Linked DNA regions of Homo sapiens: region 1 is linked to region 2. The links are contacts of gene promoters, found by promoter capture Hi-C in blood cells and fetal thymus (Javierre and others, 2016). All regions are on one chromosome and are shown on one strand. The core of a region is centred on a gene start or on the middle of the fragment in contact, and the rest is flanking DNA. Distances in the headings are between cores, read along the strand shown.

Region 1 (6,354 bases), core at 3,529-6,028, 170 kb after region 2:
CCGCCCACCTTGGCCTCCCAAAGTGCTGGGATTACACTATTTTGAATTCTCTTTCTGGAAGGTTACATATCTCTGTTTCTCTAGGATTGGTCCCTGGTGCCTTAGTTTGTTTGATGAGGTCATGTTTTCCTGGATGGTCTTGATGCTTGTGGATGTTCATTAGTGCCTGGGCATTGAAGAGTTAGGTATTTACTATAGTATTCTCAGTCTGGGCTTGTTTGTACTCATCCTTGGGAAGGCTTTCCAGGTACTTGAAAGGATGTGGGTGTTATGATCTAAGCTGTATCTGTATTAGGGGACTCTCCAAGCCCAGTTATGCTATGGTGCTTGAAGACTCATAGAGGTATTGCCTTGGTGGTCTTGGATAAGATCTGGAAGAATTCTCTGGACTACCAGGCAGAGACTCTTATTCTTTACCTGTAATTTCTCCTAAATAGTTTCAGTCTCTCTTTCTCTCTCTCTCTCGCTCTCGCTCTCTCGCTCTCTGCTGAGCCACTTGGAGCTGGGAGTGGGCTGACACAACATCCCTATGGCCACCACCACTGAGACTGCACTGGGTCAGACCTAAAGCCAGCAAAGCACTGGGTCTCACTCAGGGCCCACTGTCAACACTACCTGGCTATCGCCTATGTTCACTCGAGGCCCTGGGGCTCTACAGTCAGCAGGTGGCAAAGCCAGCCAGGCTTGTGTCCTTCCCTTCAGGGCAACGAGTTCCCTCAGGCCCTGGTGGGTCCAGAGATGCTGTCTGGGAGCCAGGGACTAGAGTCAAAAACCTTAGAAATTTACCTGGTGCTTTATTCTATGATGGCTGAGCTGGCACTGAAACCATGAGACAAAGTCCTTGCCATTCTTCCTTCCCCATTCCACAGGAGGAGGAGCCTCACCCTGTGGCCACCTCCACAGGCCCACAGGGAGTGCTGCCAGGCTACTGTCAATGTTCACTTAGGGCCCAAGGGCTCTTCAGTCAGCCTGTGGTGAATGCTTCTAGGCCTGGGACTCACCCTTCAGGGCAGTGGGCTCCCCTCTGGCCCAGGGCAGGTCCAATAGCTTGTCTGGTCCAGGGCTTGTCTAATAGCCAAGGCCTAGAATCAGTAACCACAAGAGCCCATTTGGTGCTCTCTGCCCCATTGTGTCCAGGGAGGTACCTAAGCTGCAAGACAAAGTCCCTTTTACCTTTCCCTCTGCTTTTCTCAAGTAGAAGAAGTCTCTCACCACAGCCACCATAGCTGGGAATATGCTAGGTCTCACCTGAAGCCAGCATGTCTCAGAGCCTTACTCCAGGCCCAAAGCATACCACCTGGGTATCACTGTTGGCTCTGCAGGGCCCAAGGGCTCTTGAGTCAGCAGGTGATGAATCCTGCCAGGACTGGGTTCTTTCCTTCAAGGCAGCAGATTCCCTTTTGGCCCAGGGTGTGTCTAGAAATGTCACTTCAGGAGCTAGGTTCTGGAATGGGGGCCTCTCTACTCTGACTGGTGTTCTATCCTACTGTGGCTGAGCTGGTATCCAAGATGTAAGACAAAGTCCTCTTTACTCTTCCCCCTCCTCTCCTCAAGCAAAAGGAAGAAGTCAGTTTAGTTGTTGCAAGCTGCGCTGCCTGGGGTTGCGGGAGGGGTGGTGCAAGCACTCCCTTGGCTGCCCTGGCTGGTGTCTCTCTAGGTTGTGTGCCACCTGAGTCCACTGGCTCTGAGCCCAGCATGGCATCAGGACTTGACTAGGAGTTGAAGTCCTTATGGTCTAGACTGCCTTTCAAGTGTATTTAGGGCCCCAGGGCATAATAGCCTGCCATGCCAAGGCTTGTCAAAACCCAAGCCTCAAGCCTCCTAACTACTGGGATGGGTGAACCCCTCTGGGTAGGGCTGGTCTAAATGCTCCCTCCATGGGCAGGTGTCACATGAGTTCCACCTGGTTTCACTTTCTGCTGTGACAGGGCAGCACTGAGTTGAAGGCAGAGTCCCACAGTTGCTGCATTCTCCCTCCCCCAGGTGCACAGATTCTCAGCACCACAGCGGCCGCTGCTGGGAGATGGGAGAGGAATGGCCTCGGTGTTTCAAGACTGTCTCTCCTACCCTCTTCAGTGCCTCTTTCAGTGTTATGAAGTTAAACCCAGGTACTGTGAGTCCTCACCTGATATTTGGTTCTTATGATGATGCTTTTTTGGTGTAGACAGTTGTTAAATTTGATTTTCCTGCAAGGAGAATCACTGATGGAGACTGCTATTCAGCCATCTTGCTCTGCCCCTCCTCCCTCACTTAACTTTACCTCCTAAGAGCCCTGTTTCCAAATACAATCACATAGGGGTTAGGGCTCCAAGTGTGAATTTTGGGGAGACACAATTCAGTCTATAGCATTTGGACTTGGGAAGAGGGAGGAAGAGAATATTCAGAGGAAGGTCACAGTGTAAGCAACAGTATGGAGGTGGGAAAGTTCAGCTCATGGATAGGAAAAATTGATCCAAGTTGGCAGGGCCCACAGGGAGATGTGGTGGGGTGGTGAGAGGTGGCCACATCAAAAGAACCTTGAATGCCAGGCTGAGGTGGGAGGCATTTCCTGTCATGTAGAAGGTGCCATGAGGTGGTGGGGAGGGTAACAGGATGAAAGGATATTTGGGAGGATGGATCTGGCATCAGTGATGGGTAGGGGTAAGGAGTGAACAAAGCTGGAGGCCAGGAAACTGGACACATGGCCCAGAGTTCAGGGTTAGGCTCTTCAAAGGCAGTTTCCACACTGAGTTCCCATGTGGATCCAAGCATACAGGGGGTAGATGATTTGGAAAAGCAAAACCATTCTCTTCCCATTACCACACAGTTTCCCAGCTGAGCTCATCACCAGAGTCCTACAAATCAGACAGTCAACCTGCCCCAAACTCTTCCCCTAGAAGCTGTGACCCAGAAGGAGTCCTCATCGAGCTGTAGCCCAGGGACACCGCAGCCTGAGCAGGACTGCACCTGTTCCCCCCCAGGAGCCTCATCTCTGTCTGGCCTGGCTTTGGCTTCAAATGCCCTCAGCTTTGGCTTCAAAAACTGTTGAGTCAGATTCATGAGAGCTCTGGCCTTCTTCAGTTTAGGGATTTTTAAATAGTTTTTTTCAAGCAGGCAGTAGATGAGCTCTGCTTGCTTACCTCTAAGAATTGGCTAGAACTCACAGAAAGCTGTTATACTCATAGTTATGGCTTGATTACATGGAAAGGAGACAGATTAAAATCAGCCAGGGGAAGAAAGGCATAGTGCTGGGTCCAGGAGAGCACCAGGCATGGAGTGTCCATTATCCCTTCCCCATGCAGTCAGAGTGCATTACCCTCCCGGCTTTGCTATGTGCCAATACACATGGAGTATTCTCAGCCAGTGAGGCTCCCTCAAGCCTCAGTGTTCAGGGTTTTTATTGGAACTTCATCAAAGAGGCATGATTGATTGTCCATGTGGCTGCTCTCAGTTTCCAGTCTCCAGTCCTTTTAGGGGTGACCTAAAGCCTGGACTCTAAATCACATAGTCACTTTTCCTGGCTTGGCTAGTTCCCACTATCTTTTTTTTTTTTTCTTTTTTTTTTTTTTTGAGACGGAGTCTCACTCTGTCACCCAGGCTGGAGTGCAGTGGTGCGATCTCGGCTCACTGCAAGCTCTGCCTCCTGGGTTCACGCCATTCTCCTGCCTCAGCCTCCCAAGTAGCTGGGACCACGGGTGCCCACCATGACGCCCAGCTAATTTTTTGTATTTTTAGTAGAGACGAGGTTTCACCATGTTAGCCAGGATGGTCTCGATCTCCTGACCTTGTGATCCGCCCGCCTCAGCCTCCCAAAGTGCTGGGATTACAGGTGTGAGCCACCGCGCCCGGCCCCCACCATCTTATTATTAGACTATCCATCATGACCCAAGATCCCCAGGCAAAGATATTCCTATCAGGCATTACGTGTTGAAGATTACCTCCCAGGAGTCTAGGACAAAAGCCAGACCTTTTTTTGGTCAAGCTTAATTTTTTAACATGTCATCATTCTGTTATCCTTCCTATCTGTTTTATCTTCAAAATAACCCTAATTGATGGGTTATTTTGGTTATCTATAATAAACATAAGAATGTTTATTATAGATGAGATCTCAAAAGGAAGGACACTTGAGCAAAGTTGCACAGTTGATCCTTGACTCATGGTACAAGACTCTTTCCACTACTCTGAGAGCCCTGAGTCCTGAGAAGAAGATGGAAGGAAGGTGGGTATACGTGTGTGTGCACGTGTGTGTGTGTGTAAATGTATTTCTAATGAGTATGTGTGGATATATGTGTGTCTCTGTGTGTGTGTATACATGTGGAGGTCTGTGTGTCTATATGTATGTTTGTGTGTGTGTGTGTGTGTGTACACATGCTCAGGGGGAAGGTTAAAGAGAAAATCAGCAGGGTGCAGTGGTGCACACCTGTAATGCCAGCTACACAAGAGGTAGACAGGGGAGGATCACTTGAGCCTGGGAGTTTGAGAGAGAGAAAATTTCAATAATCTTCTTCTTGCAGTTAGAAGGAAAAACCTGGGGCTGAGCATAAAGAGACATAAAGCACAGCATAAAGAGGCAGAGAAATGTCTAAGGGAGAACAAGTGACCAAGAATTAATTAGTTCATCTATAAAGAAATAGAGCACTTTAGCAGCAGAATAAAACTGGAAGATAATTTCCTCTAGAGCCCTGATAATCTTTGTGAGAAAACTGTTGGTCACATTAATTGCAAAAACTTGCAGGACTCTCTGCAACAGAACTGGCTAGTAAAACCATCTTTATAAAACTCACTATGCTACAAGTGGCATTCAACTCTTTCTCAACCAAGATTTCACAAACCTATCTCCAGCTTCCAGATGGTGAGGGAAAGTGTGATGAGACTTTATGATAAATTGTGCCTGTCTCTGAGCCCATCTCCTCCCGTTGAAGAGGAGGAAAATGAGGATAGCACATTATAACCCTGCCTGACAAAAGTCACAAGATAAGCAAATAATTATTATTAAAACCAGAGAGTCCTATAATTTATTCATGAATCCCACACATTCTATATTAGATCTTCCATTTCAATTTCTTGTATTCTTTGAAGCAAATTTATAAGATTTGAATTATTCAGAAAAGCTCCCAAGCTAATATAAGAAAACACTTTAACCACAGGAAGTATCATGCTACACAATATGGTGTGGTGGTGAAGGGTGCAGGCTCTAAAACCAGAAAACCCAGGTTCAAGTCCTGGCCCTACCACCTTGGGAGAGTTACATGGTCTCTCTGTGCCTCCATTTCCCCATCTAAAATGTGGGGATGACAATAATAGTGTCTATTTCACAGAGTTGTTTTGAGGAAAATAATATATGTAAAGCACTGTGAACAGCAGTCAGTGCTATGTAAGTGTTTGCTCTAGTTATTTTAACATTTTGGATTATAAATATCTACCCTGTTATTCAGATGACAAGCATCCCTAAGCTGATAACATGATGAAGAGCTCTTGTGTTCCTTGATTTTCCCTCAGCTTTGTGAGGAAAAGAATACCACATGAAGAAGAACAACTCAAGCAGGGGTGAGAAGGAAACTTGGCTTAAGTTTGGGGGGCTTGAGTTTATTAGGCTTTTGTCTTCTAAAAATCTCCTAAGCTTCATTGATAAGATGTTTAATATCAATCTAGCTAAAAAGGACCAATATACCCCACAAAACACTGAGTTAGACATAAAAACAGAAGGGTAATAAATGAAATATGGAAAACTACACAACCAGAAAAATAAACAACTACCAGTACCCAAAACATGGCTAAATCTCACAGGATTATGTTGAGTGAAAGAAGCCAGCCACAAACCTGCACATACTGAATGATCCCATTTATATGAAGTTCAAGAACAGGTGAAACTAATCCATGGTGACAGAGGTCAGGATCCTGGTTAACTTTGCAGGGACAGCAACTAAGAAGGCGCAAGAGGGAGCCCTCTGTGCTGATGGGAACATTCTGTATCTTGAGCTGAGTGGCGGTCACATGAGTGTGCACATATGTAAATAGTAAGGAGTTGTAGCTTAAGGTATATGCACCTCGCTGTATGTAAGATACTGTCTTAGTCCATGTGTGCTGCTGTAACAAAATATCTGAGACTGGGTAATGTGTAAAGAACAAAAATGTATTTCTCACAGTTCTGGTGGGTGGGAAGTCCAAGATCAAAGCGCCAGCAGGTTTGTAGTCTAGTGAGGGCTGCTCTCTGCTTCCAAGATGGCACCTTGAATGCTGAGTCCTCCAGAGGTGAGAAACGCTGTGTCCCAGCATGGTGGAAAGAACAGAAAAGCAAAAGAAGAAAACTGAGCTAGGTCGCTCCCTCAAGCCCTTTCATAAGGTCGCTAATCCCATTCATGAGGGGGCTCCTCC
Region 2 (6,341 bases), core at 445-2,944:
ATTAAAGGCACTCTACACTTAGGCCTCAAATGCCTTTCCTTACTTCCTGTATTATCTCCTCCATTCAGATCAGACCGAACTACTCAGTCACCCACACTTGTCAGACTCATTCTTCTCTTGCCCTTTTTCTCAAGGAATCCCTCTCTTGACCTGAGAAATTCTACCTCTCACTTAAAAGTGACTGTTCACTGAATTCCGCAGAATGAACTAAGGTGGCAGGCAGGGGCCCTCAGAGATGCCATAAGTTACACCACCTGAGGATGCTTTCAGAGCACCACCTGCGTGTGGCTCTTTGCCATCTTGCCTTGGCTCACTTCCCTGTGTGCTTGGAAAGTAGAGACGATAGGCGAGACCTCAAAATGTAACTTACTTCCAAGCTATCTCCTTTTCAAAGCCCAGATCCCCCAATAATTTTGCAACCAACATGAAGAGGAGTTTCTGCCCAGTGGGCTGCTTTTTGGGAGAGACTGTGAGCAGATGACTTCATATTAACCCAGATCTAGTCAACCTTCTAGCCTGAAAAAACCTAAAATGCATAGTAGATAGTTTACATACGGACCGAGGCTGAATGAGCAAAAAGGTGGAGAGATGGATAATGAACACAGAAACAAGTATGACAATTTCAGTAAAGAAGATAAAATGGTGCGAGTATATGCTGACGGTAGGGTATTGCTTTAACTGTGCTGGTCAGGGAAATCCTTTCTGACTGGTGAAAAGCAGAGAAAGAGACCAAGGTGAAAATTCCCCCAAAAGTGTGAACCTGATCATAATTTTTTTTAATTTAATTTTTAGAGCCAGTGTCTTTCTCTGTCACCCAGGCTGGAGTGCAGTGGTGCGATCATAGCTCACTGCAGCCTCCAAACTCCTAGCCTCAAGCCATCCTCCTGCCTCAGCCTCCCAAAGCGGTGTAATTACAAGCATGAGTCACCATGCTCGACCCTCATCATAATTTTTTTTTTTTTGAGATGGAGTCTCAGGCTGGAGTGAAGTGGCGCACTCTCGGCTCACTGCAACCTCCGCCTCCCGAGTTCAAGCGATTCTCGTGCCTCAGCCTCCCAAGTAGCTGGGATTACAGGCGTGCACCACACACCCGGCTAATTTTTGTTAATTTTAGTAGAGACGGTTTCACCATGTTGGCCAAGCTGGTCTCGAACTCCCGACCTCAGGTGATCCACCCGCCTCGACCTCCCAAGGTGCTGGGATTACAGGCATGAGCCACCCGGCCTTCCTCATCATAATGTGTATGTCCAAAATGTATGCATCAGCAGTAAAAGTGAAAGCCAGAATGAAAAAGGAAGGTGATGAGAGGGGTAAAGTCTCATGTGGTTGGAACCATTTTGGGAAACAGGACAGGAATGATAGCAATTAAGAAGCCGGTCCACACTATTTGCTATCCTAGGTCTGAATAGTGAAGAGAAAATGAAAGGAGAGCGCCAAGGGTAAGAGAAAGAAATTAGCTATTCCACCTCCTGGTTGGCTACTGTCTTCCTGCCCTCTTCCCCATGGCACAGCAACTCCTCCACCTGCTGAGGACCCTAGCCTAAGCTGCAGCGCCCCAGAGCCTCAGCACCCCCGCGACCCAGCTCCCACGAGGGGCACGGGTTCTAGCTCCGCCCCGCAAGAAGGACTTCCGCGTCCTCGGCCGTCCCGCTCCCCCCGCCCCAACCCAGCGGTTCTGCGCATGCGCGGGGGCCATATTAGCAGCGGTTATTCGGTGAGCGGTGGTGGTTTATTCTTCCGTGGAGTTAAGGGCTCCGTGGACATCTCAGGTCTTCAGGGTCTTCCATCTGGTGAGCCTTTGGCCCCTTGGGGCCCGCGGAAGCTTGGCCGCTTTCCCATTGGGCGGGGGTCGTGAACGTCAAGACAGTCGGTCCCGGCCTGCAGTTGCCGCCGAGGAGCCGTGGGCACGATGACTCTGCACCGCCTCCTCTGTGACGGACCGACCGCCGGGAATGGCCCCCGCCGGCCGCCGTCGGGGGCTTCCCAGTGCCAAGCCTGGACGCCGGGGCCCGCGAGGGGGCGGGCTGAGGGTGGGGGTCTGTGGGCAGGACCGAGAGTTGGGGTGGCTTCCGTCCTCAGGAGTTCGGTACGTGAAAGTTAGCTCTCCCGGAGGTGCCGGTGAACTCAAAATAGTGCTGTGCCCGGCGTCAGGCGTGGAGACAACAGAAAGTTGTGCTTAAAGCTCGAATCAGAAATCCCCGGCGAGTGTCTCTGTGTCCTCCCTGCTTCTCTGCTCTGTGCCATCCTTACTTTGCACCATTCCTATTGCAATTACCTCAACCAGTTCGCTGCCCTCGGTCTCTCACCAGCCAGAGTGATCATTTAAAATGCCAATCAGTTCCTGTGGGCCTTGGGAATCATTCAGAGGAGCCCCATTGGCTGAGAGATAAAATTCTGTTTTTACCTGGGCACGCGGGCTCTCCAGGATTTGATTCCAGCTTACCTTTCCAGTCTTGATTCCCTATATTCCAGTATTTGGAAATGTGGGCCTTGGACTGAGGCTTTACCAAATAACGCTGAACACCTAGTATTGCCTTTTGCACGAATGGTACTGATGGTGCCCAAGATAACTGCCTCCACCCCCAAGTTCAGGACCCAGATCACTCTCTGGAGAAGGCCTCAGCCTCTTGCCTTGGCTTTCAAGGCTCTGCGTGATTTGGATACTCGCTTAGCTCTTATTTATATATATTTTAAAAGCATCAGCAGTTTATCTCATGCCCACTAAACTATCCTGCCTCCGTACCCTTTGTTCATACTTTCTGCTCTGTGTGGAATGCCCTTCTTTCTTCCCCTGTTCTTTCTCTTAGACCCAAGGGTTCTCAGCCTTATTTCTGCCTCTCCCATCTCTGATTTACTTTCATTTTCTGTATCGATTTCTCAAAAAATACTTTCTTGATTCTTTCATCATCCCTTTTCCCACCCTACCCCCGGTTCCTCTTTCCACATTATAATCTATGACTGCCTCTCTCACCTAACTGCCAGTATTAGCTTTTCAGGACAGGAACTGGTTTTACACATTTTGGTATTCCAGCATCTAGCATAATGCCTGACACTTAGCTGAATAAAGGGAGTAAATAAAACAGATTTGTAAAGTCAGCAAATGCTTTTTAATTTGTGAATCTTATTTTAATGATGATCTGATTTTCTTTTTACAGGAACTATATAAAGTTCAGAAAACATGGTGAGTTAATACACATGCCAATAAACGGTTGCCTGATAAACAGTATTGCTTGTACTCAGTTTACAGACTTGAGTGGGAAAATTGAAATAGAAGGAAAGCAGTGAGAAGGTGCCTTTTTTCTTGTCAGTTTCCTCTCACCTATTGAACTTTGTATACCAGGATAGGTTTTGTAAGATCATTTGTAGGCTTGCAGGAGTTGGCCTACTTTCAGTGGGTAGGAATCACTCATGTGTTTTTCCTTTGCAGTCTCGAAGATATGACTCCAGGACCACTATATTTTCTCCAGAAGGTAAAATAGAAATTGTTTAATCTGCCTCAAGTTTAAAAATAAATGTGTTAGACTTTTAGAAAAAAAAATTACAAACTTTTTTTGGTAGTTGCAAAGTTCATCCTTTTTGTACTTTGAAGCAATTATCATCACCAGGTTGATTATACCATAGAAGAGTGAAAGTGGAAATTTGTTTCTAGCTTGCTTCATTGCTGATTTCTTTTGGGCCAGTGGTGCAGGAGCACAGAGGAGAGTCTTGGCTTCTCACTGCTTTTGTTTTGTAGGTCGCTTATACCAAGTTGAATATGCCATGGAAGCTATTGGACATGCAGGCACCTGTTTGGGAATTTTAGCAAATGATGGTGTTTTGCTTGCAGCAGAGAGACGCAACATCCACAAGCTTCTTGATGAAGTCTTTTTTTCTGAAAAAATTTATAAACTCAATGAGTAAGTGAGATTTTAGGAAAGAGTTTAAAAAAAATCTCACTTTCTCACATAAGTGGGATCTATGTAATTTGGGAGGGCTCTTCCGTGCGATGTGGTAGAATTGAAATTGTGCCTTTATTTTGCTTGAAACCTCTTTGAGGCCTGGTACCATGTGTTACTCCTTTTAAGTGCAGGGCAAACACTTAGTGGAGAAACTAGCATTGTGTAATGATAAGAGTACAGACTTAGTAGTCACACAGATTTGGGTTCAACTCCAGGCTTCACCCATGCAGGCTATGTGACCTTGCACCGATTATTTAATTTCTTTGGGCCTCAGAGCCTCCTAAAGTGGTTGTGGCAGTTTAATGAAATAAAATGAATGAAATAAAATAGTATAGTATCTGGCATTTAGTAGGCCCTCAAAGTATTGTTTAGAATAGCTACGCAGGATTTTGTTGAATTACACTGAATCTTACTAAAGAACAAGCCTCTTAGAGGTCTCGAAGAATTTAGCCAAGCCTTGTACACTGTGTGAAATGTTTGTTATATTTGAGTGTGCAGAACTTTGCAGCTCATGGAGAGCTGACCGTGCTAAGTAGAGACTTTCCTTTCAGTGGTGGTGGGCTTGGTAAATGCTGATTATCAGGGCCTTTTGATAAACTTGTCCAAAGTGGTGTCACCCCTCCACAGAGCCTCTGTTGGGACCACTCAACAGCTGGCAGGCTTGGCTAGGCGTAGTCACAGGGCGAGTCTCAGCTATAAGAGAGCCAGGGCAGCCCTCAGGAAGTGGGCCCAAAAAAATGAAATGCACCTCTAGTAGGAGCCTAGCCCTGTACTTCCTAAGCAGGCTTGTAAACCCTCCTGCCATTGTCCCCTGTCACCTCTGTCAAGCCAGGCCTTAGGAAATGAATATTACTCAAGAGCAGTCTGTCTAGCAAAATCTTTTTTTTTTTTTTTTTTTTGAGACAGATTCTTGCTCTGTCACCCAGGCTGGAGTACGGTGACGCCATCTTGGCTCACTGCAGCTTCTGCCTCCTGGGCTCAAGTGATCCTCCCACCTCAGCCGCCCAAGTAGCTGGGACTATAGGTGCGCACCACCACACCCAGTTAGTTTTTGTATATTTTGTTGAGATGGGATTTTGCCGTATTGCCCAGGCTGTTCTTGATCTCCTGGGCTCAAGCCCTCCATCTACCTCGGCCTCCCAAAGTGCTGGGATTACAGGCGTGAGCCATTGTGGCAAGCCTGTCTTTTTATTCTTTGTTGCTGAATCTTCTTGAGATTACATTAGCTTCTTGGCGTTAATTTTGTTATCCTATTCATAGGTGGTAATGATAAATACATCTATTAAATAACTTAAAGGGTGCATTTGTTTATCTTTCATGTTGAGTGACATCGAGTAAACATCTCCTACAAAGATAAAACTTGTAGGTTTTTTCTGAAGGAAGTAGCTGTTGTGAAGCAAACATAGTGAATTTCTAATAGAAATTAGAATTTTTTAAATACTTATAAACACTCCTTGCAAGCATCTTCCCTGCTTACAGATCAATGTCTTTTTTTCTTCAAGGGACATGGCTTGCAGTGTGGCAGGCATAACTTCTGATGCTAATGTTCTGACTAATGAACTAAGGCTCATTGCTCAAAGGTATGGTCATAAATAGCATAACTGATGATACAGAAATTAGTTTTGATGTTTCTTTTTTTTTTTTTTGAGACAGAGTCTCACTCTGTCACCCAGGCTGGAGTGCAGTGGCACGATCTTGGCTCACTGCAACCTCCGCCTCCCGGGTTCAAGCGATTCTCCTGCCTCAGCCTCCCAAGTAGCTGACCACCACACCGGGTTAATTTTTGTATTTTTAGTAGAGACGGGGTTTCACTGTGTTAGCCAGGATGGTCTCGATTTCCTGACCTCGTGATCCGCCTGCCTTGGCCTCCCAAAGTGCTGGGATTACAGGCATTAGCCACTGCACCTGGCCTAGTTTTGATGTTTCTAAGGAGAGCTCACTTTTGCAAAGATTAAAGTCATTAAAAATCTTTGAATTGAAAATTACAGATTTTTTTCAACCAAACTTACAAAATATTATTTACTATGAGAATATTCAGATGTTGACTTGTTCCCTCCCCTTCAAATTACAAATGACTGTTAGGTTGTCCCCATGGCATAGATTGCTTTTCAGAGAATATTTTCCTTAGAGTCTGTCTGTGTTTTAGAGAAAACTACTAATGTGCCCATCTCTTTATCCTAGGTATTTATTACAGTATCAGGAGCCAATACCTTGTGAGCAGTTGGTTACAGCGCTGTGTGATATCAAACAAGCTTATACACAATTTGGAGGTATTTAATTTTTTTGAAAATTTTATTCGAAAAAGTTAAGACATTTTATGAGTTATAACCCTTTTGAGGTAGTAAAAAATTGAAAATAGACCCTTTGTTTTAAATTAAATTTAATTTTTTTAATTGGCAAATA

Evidence for each region. The method cuts DNA at HindIII sites, captures the fragments that hold promoters and counts their contacts. A CHiCAGO score of 5 or more calls a contact.
Region 1: a contact is called between a fragment that was not itself captured here and the fragment with the promoter of PSMA4 in region 2, in 1 of 17 cell types (fetal thymus). The highest score is 5.5, in fetal thymus.

The regions. Positions count from the first base shown.
Region 1 is chr15:78,701,865-78,708,218 of GRCh38, forward strand. LOC105370913 (a long non-coding RNA gene) reads right to left here. Exons shown (of 3, transcript XR_932509.2): 2 at 6,124-6,241. Among named protein-coding and RNA genes, the nearest start is that of CHRNB4, 64 kb to the left of the region's middle. The HindIII fragment of the contact is 1,638 bases long and covers 3,960-5,597 here.
Region 2 is chr15:78,538,750-78,545,090 of GRCh38, forward strand. PSMA4 (proteasome 20S subunit alpha 4) reads left to right here and starts at 1,695. Exons shown (of 9, transcript NM_002789.6): 1 at 1,695-1,790; 2 at 3,156-3,181; 3 at 3,428-3,470; 4 at 3,734-3,896; 5 at 5,441-5,518; 6 at 6,120-6,208. The coding sequence starts at 3,179. RefSeq lists enhancers at 1,733-1,842, 1,951-2,843 and a silencer at 1,923-2,192. The HindIII fragment of the contact is 17,328 bases long and covers 1-1,820 here.